Linked DNA regions of Homo sapiens: region 1 is linked to region 2. Evidence: promoter capture Hi-C in human tissues and cell types (Jung and others, 2019). All regions are on one chromosome and are shown on one strand. Each heading gives the region's core, a stretch centred on a gene start or on the middle of the fragment in contact. The rest is flanking DNA. Distances are from core to core; before and after follow the strand shown.

The links. Contacts are between HindIII fragments. The study calls those that stand out against the background at their distance.
Region 1: a fragment that was not itself captured here is called in contact with the fragment with the promoter of TAC3 in region 2 in 1 of the 25 tissues and cell types used here (pancreas).

Annotation. Positions count from the first base shown.
Region 1 is chr12:57,144,888-57,148,746 of GRCh38, reverse strand. It overlaps LRP1 (LDL receptor related protein 1), which reads right to left. Exons shown (of 89, transcript NM_002332.3): 5 at 3,647-3,775; 6 at 3,257-3,520. LRP1-AS (LRP1 antisense RNA) reads left to right here and starts at 1,128. Exons shown (of 2, transcript NR_131938.2): 1 at 1,128-1,308; 2 at 3,664-3,859. RefSeq lists an enhancer at 1,586-2,514. The HindIII fragment of the contact is 3,961 bases long and covers 1-3,371 here.
Region 2 is chr12:57,014,534-57,018,149 of GRCh38, reverse strand. It overlaps TAC3 (tachykinin precursor 3), which reads left to right and starts at 1,621. Exons shown (of 7, transcript NM_013251.4): 1 at 1,621-1,763; 2 at 2,348-2,466. The coding sequence starts at 2,353. The HindIII fragment of the contact is 18,684 bases long and covers 1-2,079 here.

The DNA of each region.
Region 1 (3,859 bases), core at 142-2,641, 130 kb before region 2:
GCAAACCCGATTTCCTTCAAGGCCTCTATTTACAACCTCAGAACCTCCCCTCACCATACACACCCATGTTCCCAGGACCCCAATCTTGCAGTCTGCCTCATTCTTTCTACAGTGGTGGCATCCTCCAAGGTGAAGGGAATACAGATCAGAGGAGCTCAGCTTAGGAAATGCAGGGCTGGGCTGGGGTCGGTAGACTGCACCACCAGGCCTGCCCAGGGGCAGCCTGGCAGGAGGCTGGACAAAGCTGGGTTACAGGCTCCATAGGCCTCTGGAGCTGAGAGACTGGTCAGAGGTGGGGGTGAGAGTGCGCAGGCCTGGTTCCTGACTAAGGGACTATCAGGCCTGTTGATCCCTCTGGGCCTCAATTTTCAGAACTTTAGTCTTTTGTGTATCACTTTCAAAATGTCTACCATGCTTATGTACAGCTTGCGCTACTGTTTATTACCAGTTATTTCAATTAACTTACTTTTCTTATTTCGCTGCATGCTAAACAATTGCTGAAGTAACAGATTTGATGTGCTAGTTACAGGAGTTTCCTAATGCATATCAAATAAAAACGTAACTATAACAGTTAAAAAAAAAAAAAAAAAGCTTGTCCAGGTACCATCTAAAATCAAATCAATGCATAGCCCCTTTGAGAAAGCAGTAGTGAAAGCCAGGGCTGCTCTTGGTACTGGCCAAGGGTCTTGCCTTCTCTTCCGGCTCTCACCATGGAGTTCTCTGGTCTTGGAATTCGAGCCTCATAGACCTCCCCAAACCACTGGGCCAGCGGCAGAGGGGAGGGGGAGGTAATCTCAGGTGGGAGGAAAAGAGATGACCCACCCAATCCAGGGGGATAACACTGGGCCTGAGGCAGGAGGGTCAGCAGCCCTGGGGCATTGAAGAGGAATGTTCACACACTGCAGGGCCTCAGGGGGGCCCTCGGGGGCTCTCAGGACTCCACAACAGGTCTGACTCACATGGCCCAGGACACATGTGAACCAGGCTCATTTCCTGGCCTCCTTCCTTCTTTCTATTCTATTTCTGCTTCCAGAGTTTTCTCTGGGGCAGGCTCCCCCTTCTGCCTGCACCAGCGGGCTGGCCTCGCTGGCTCGAACACCCCTCAATTGTCAGACTCCTCCCTCTGTGTGCACCCCTGCTGCATGAGGCTCAGCCCCAGGGGTCCAACAGAGGTCACAGTCACAGCACAGAATGGAAGGCTTGCAGGGAGGGCTGCCCTGGAGGGCAGAGTGAAAGCAGGGGAAAGCTGCAGCCTTTCTTCTTCGTCCTCCTTGGGGAGCTAATTACAGGCCAGCAGCCACTGTGCAGGTGAGTGCCTGGGACCAGCCACCCTACACACCAGGGCAGGCCAGTCAGCATCTCCTGGGGAGGGGGATGACCCAGAAACTGGGGGAGGGGCTAGGGGAGAGACACTGACGTCCTCAGTTTGGGACCCATAATTAGTTTGTGGGAGAGAGCAAAACAACCATCCTCAGGGTGACAGCCAGACATTCAGGCGGCAGGGACGTGGAGCAGGGGGAGGGCAGGGAGGAAGGGACAGAAGCTGGGATGAGAGAAACCCACTCATTTACCCCACAAGCATTTCCCCTTGGACTCTTCTAGCCTCCTGGACTCTGCCCCTGAGAGGCCCAGTGAGTTTAGCAGACTGGGAGGCAAGGCAAATCTGTTTGCCAAGGGAGGGGTACCAGCTTCTCCTGGGGAGGAAGTCAGATAAGGAGATGAGGCCAGAGTAGAAGTTGAGAAGGTTACCTCCAGGACACCCCATAGCCACCTACCCAGAAGCCCACTGTATGGCAAGATGCAGGGCTGGGGAGGAAACTGACAAGCTGTCTGCCCAGACAGGCCTGTTGAGTAGGTCAGTGGACAAGGAACAGGGGGAGGGCAGCTGCACAAGAGGGTCTAGCACCAATCCCACCCCATCAGCCATGGGGTTCCCTGAGTCGCCCACTCGTTAAGAGCTCAGCCAACCAGGCTTGACAGCCCCCAGCTCAGCACCCCAAGGAGGACACATGTCTGATCACAGGTGAGCTGTGGACAGCAGCAGCCCAAGGACGCTATCAGGGATGCTCTGGAGGAGCCAAAGGCAGAAATGTGAACCTTACGCTGAGGCCACGGAGAGTGAGGGCTCTCAGAGGAACCCCTGCTCGCCACCATCCCGGGGAGGGGCCTTTCTCTCTCCCAGAATGAATCCCTTGTAACCTCCTGGGATCTTTCTTTTCATCACAAGAACCAAATAAAGAAACTTGAAGATCTTCTAGAGAGGCCCAAGGTTCACAATCCTCAACTTCAAAGTGTGCTGTCCTTTACCACTGGCTTTCACTCCAGTTAATCTGATCTAGACAGACAAGCTCAAACCCATTATGCAGATTAGGAAACCAAGGCAGAGATGGGAATTCTGGTTTACTAAACAGTTACAGATCAAGTTAATCTCCCTTAGGGGGTCAGATCAACCACAGGCCAGATTCTTCCTCTCAGCCCTGTGGTGCATTTCTTTGGAAATGTGATGCTGCCAGATGTTGACTTTTAAGGTTGCTGGTGTAACAGCCTCTGAGATGGGCAGGGCTGTTCCCGGCAGTGGGTCTACACCCAGCTATGCTCGTGCCCCTTTCTGTGACACCCCTTCTTCCACAACTAGGATAGCAAAAGTGTAGCCTAGGGAGAAGCCTGAATGGAAGCATCCAGGATATTCTAAAATCTCATGTGGCTCACGCTCCTCTCCCAGCCTCATTCACTGCCACAAAGCCACAGAGAAATAACCTCAGTACTGCCCTCCCCCGATGGCAGCAGAGAGTCCATTGGCAATGGTCCCCGAGGGAAACGATGGCCCATGGAGACAGAGCAGCTGGGCCCCAGCTCCTTTACCCTCAGCTGCAGCCTAACAGGGCACCTCAGGCTTCCGCTCCTTCTTTCCCTAGCCTTGGCTCCCACTGCACCGGAAAGTCCCTCTGCAGTCTAGTCAACACTCCCCTCTCAGAGAAGGGACAGTCCCTGGTCTCTGGAGATTGACCATTCACTGCCCCCTCAGCCCTTGGCCAGAAATGCAGGGGCCATCCAGACACTTGCTCAGAGAGCTGGGAGGGAGCGTGCCGGTGGCTCTGCCCCTGCCTCAAACACACACCATTGTATCCAGCCTCCTGCTTCTCCTGCCCCAGACAGGACCATCCTGTGTAACTCCCGGCCTCTGTTCAAGATAGGGTCCACCTTCCCTGTCTCCCCTACCCTCCCCAGCCCTCCAAGCTGAGAGCAGGTGACTCACGGTGCAGACTGAGGGAGATGTTGATGGTGTGCTCATCCACGAAGCCCTTTAGGCCAGGCATGCGGGCACACTTGAGCTGCGTCTGAGCAGCACTGTCCCCAACATGCACCCAGCATACGGTCTCGTTGGCATAGCTGAAGTCCATGGCTGTGGTCTGCCGCGTGCTCGTAGGTGTGATGGTAGACACCTGGGCCCCACTCAGGTACGTGGCCAAGATGTTCTGGGAGTTGGCTATCAACAGCACAGGGGGCCGGTCTACTGGCTCTGGGAATGGGGAAGAGAAGAGTCCGTGCAGCCAGGGCTCTAGGACCACCTCTCAGGCCACCACCCACCAGGGAACAGCATTGAGGGGGCTTAGTTAGCACTGTGGCCAGAGGCAACCCCACCCACCGTTCTTGGCCTTGCAGGAGCGGTTATCCGGCTGCAGGAGGTATCCTTCAACACAGCCACATATGAAGGAGCCGTCTGTGTTGGTGCATAGCTGGCTGCAGGTGCCGTACACTGAGCACTCATCAAAATCTGCCGAGGAAAGGGCAAGAATGTGGTCATTTCCAGTGTGACAAGGGCAACGAAGTGGGTGATCATCAGACATGATCAACATGT
Region 2 (3,616 bases), core at 372-2,871:
TAGGGCCTCATATTTAAATGGGTAAAGCAGGCATAGCTGGAAGGCAGAATACAGAACCCCCCTAATCAAGGATCTCATTTTTATATTGAATCCTAGGCCCCCCAAAAGAGGGAAATGTCATGGGACGAGATGTGTGGCATTTTTATCGAGTGCCCCACTGTAAAGATGCTCCCCCAAGGCTGGCAGGCAGCCCAGTGCCGATTAGCCCACTCTGTGCTTAGTCTTTTTTTTTTTTTTTTTTTTGAGGTGGAGTCTTGCTCTGTTGCCCAGGCTGGAGTGCAATGGCGTGATCTCGGCTCAATGCAATCTCTGTCTCGTGGGTTCAAGCGATTCTCCTGCCTCAGCCTCCCAAGTAGCTGAGATTACAGGCACCAGCCACTATGCTCAGCTAATTTTTTGTATTTTTAGTAGAGATGGGGTTTCAACATGTTGGCCAGGCTGGTCTCGAACTTCTGACCCCAAGTGATCCGCCCGCCTCGGCCTCCCAAAGTGCTGGGATTACAGGCGTGAGCCACCATGCCTGGCGTGCTTAGCCTATTTTTAATGGGAGTTTCATCCTCAATGGTGAGTGCTTTCATTGTCTTTAGGTGCCCCAGACCATGTTTTTAAAAATTTAAATGCACGAAGAAATAAGTAGCCCTGTATAGTAGTAATACTTTGTTGTGAATAACTGTCATAAGTCATCTCTAAAACTGTATTTTTTATCTAGTTATTATATATGACTAGCTATATGTCTAGTTTTTTAAATAATACAAAGTAATTTATTTTTGGCATCCTCAAAAACCAAAGAGATTAGGTAATGTAGTGTAGAAGAGAGCAGAGCTTTAGACCTGAGAAGAATCTGCCCATGACTCGTGAAACTCCACAACGAAAGTAGGAGACCCCAAAAAAGGGGTGAGTGTCATCTTTTCTGAATTTTTTTTTTTTTTTAGATGGAGTCTTGCTCTGCCACCAGGCTGGAGTGCAGTGGTGCAATCTCGGCTCAGCCTCCCGAGTAGCTAGGATTACAGGCACGCGCCACCATGACCAGCTAATTTTTGTATTTTTAGTAGAGACAGCGTTTCACCATGTTGGCCAGGATGGTCTCGATCTCTTGACCTCGTGATCCGCCCGCCTCGGCCTCCCAAAGTGCTGGGATTACAAGCGTGAGCCACTGCACTCGGCCGGTCAGATAATTTTTTTGGCCAGTTTTTACATAGAGTAATTTTAGGTTTTATGGCTGGCTTTGGGGCAAAGGGGTTCTGGTTTTTATAGCTGGTCTTGGGGGAGAATGGAACCGAGTGACAAGAGGACAAGAGAGGGTCAGAGAAAAACTTCTGCTTCTGAGGCGGCTATTGAGGCCTTCATTTTGGAGTATTGTCCTCTAAGCCCCAGCAGTGTCAAACTGTACACAAACCATACACAGCAGCCAGCTCGGGTGCTGTTAGGAAATGGTCTCACTGCTGGGTCTGTGGGGTATGTGTGTGTCTGGGTGTGTGGCTACTGTCTGCATCCTCCTCCCCCCTACAGCCTCCCCGCCTCCCCTCCAGCCACCCTGGGATTGGTGACTCTCAGCCCCTCCCCTCAGCTCCCCTAGACCCTCCCAGAGCCTTTATCAGGGAGCTGGGACTGAGTGACTGCAGCCTTCCTAGATCCCCTCCACTCGGTTTCTCTCTTTGCAGGAGCACCGGCAGCACCAGTGTGTGAGGGGAGCAGGCAGCGGTCCTAGCCAGTTCCTTGATCCTGCCAGACCACCCAGCCCCCGGCACAGAGCTGCTCCACAGGTAGGCAAGTGGGAGAATGCTGGATGGACCAGAGCTGGCACCAGGGGACAGGAGCCAGCGTCAGGAGGGAATAAAGCAGATGGCAGCCTCTGATAGGGGAGCAGGGGACTGGGAAGGTGAGCACAAAGCACCTGTAGGGCCGAGAGCTGGTTGGTGTTTGGAGCCTGTGGCTACAGACTCATTCTTTCATACCAGAAAGTTTTTGCCTAAGTCTTGGGATTATCTAGTACTGGAAAATAGCATCCAGGATCCCTCCTCCAGCTGACTGAGGAAACAGACCAGTCCATGTCCTACAAATCTATCATCTTTCTTGGGAGCTAGAGTCCTCCTGGCACCACTATAGCATTGCACATCTCCTGGGGAGATATCTGATGGGGTAGCAGGGAAACTAAGCCCAAGGGCTGTACCCCCTTCTCAGAAATACTTTCCACCCTCTCTCCAGACCAGGGCTTGGACAGTGGAGTTGGGGGCTGGGGAAGCAGGGTCAAGCCAAGCTGCTGGTAATGAATGTCTCTTGTGTCTTCACCCATGCTGTATCTTCCTCTTCTCTCCTTTACCTGAGTCCTGTCCCTTTGCTCTCCCAGGCACCATGAGGATCATGCTGCTATTCACAGCCATCCTGGCCTTCAGCCTAGCTCAGAGCTTTGGGGCTGTCTGTAAGGAGCCACAGGAGGAGGTGGTTCCTGGCGGGGGCCGCAGCAAGGTAAGTCTCCCCTGGCAGAGTACTGGGGACATCACGGGAACTTGGGACTCTGCCTGTCTGGACAGCTGTAGTGAGGAAACTGGGGTGGGGGGGTTGTCCGTCAGAGGGCATTTTGCCTCCCTTTGGATTTCTTTGTTTCTCTGGTCCTTTCATGTTCCCACTGTCTCCAGGTGTGTTTGTGTCTCTGTATCTCTGCATGTCTTTGACACCTTGTACATAAAAGGTGCCCTACAAATATGTTGTTTGGTGGGTTGATTGATGGGAGACTTGGTGATTGGATGGTACTGTGAGGGGTGAGCTAGGGTGGTCTAAGGCTCTCTATAGTCTACCTCAGGTCCCTTTGCAAGGGACAGATCTCTTCTATTTCCTGGATGGTATGAAACAGTCAGAATTTCTTTCCCAAATGGTTATTTGTGTGCTATTTTACCTATCAGTTATGTGTATTGTTTTATTTTCAAAATGCAAATAAATTCCCTTATCTTTTGCTCATCCACCCCCAGTAACCTCAGGTGCTTCTAAGATCCCAACCCCTTCCTTCTTCTCTTTTCTCCCTTGCCCGCCTCTATCCTCTGCTTAGTCAGGATAGGAAAACAACAACAGCAAAAAAACCAGATTGAGCCTCGATTTCCACAGTTCCTTTACGAAAAAGAATAGGAATTGTCAGGGTAGGGGTACAGGGGGAGGATAGGGAGGAAGTCTTTTCAAGGTTTTGAAATGACAGCAATTACATCGGTACAAATGCTTTTAAGATGATTGCGGGTGGGACTTATTACAAATTCAATGTGTGAAGTTTAACTGCCTCTTCAGCTCAAATCTGTTCAGCATCTCATTATAGGAGGTGGGCAGAGTATTCAACAATTTGGGAAAAGTGGCTGCCTGAACACCACATGCTGGGCCAAGGGAGTTATCACCAGGGCAGCCTTGCAGGTGGCAGCAGTTGTGCCATATCCAAAAGGCCAGAACCGTTAAAAAAAAAAACACCCAGGGGAGTGCCAAGTATGGGCTGGACACCGTTTGGAGCCACAAAGTTCCAGCCCAGGATAGTTAGAGTATCTGAGTTCTTCTGAGACAAACTTGTTTCAAGACCTTGGCCAATGAGATGTCCCCTCTGCCCCTCTTGGTCAATGAATGAGAGGGATTGCCATCCTAC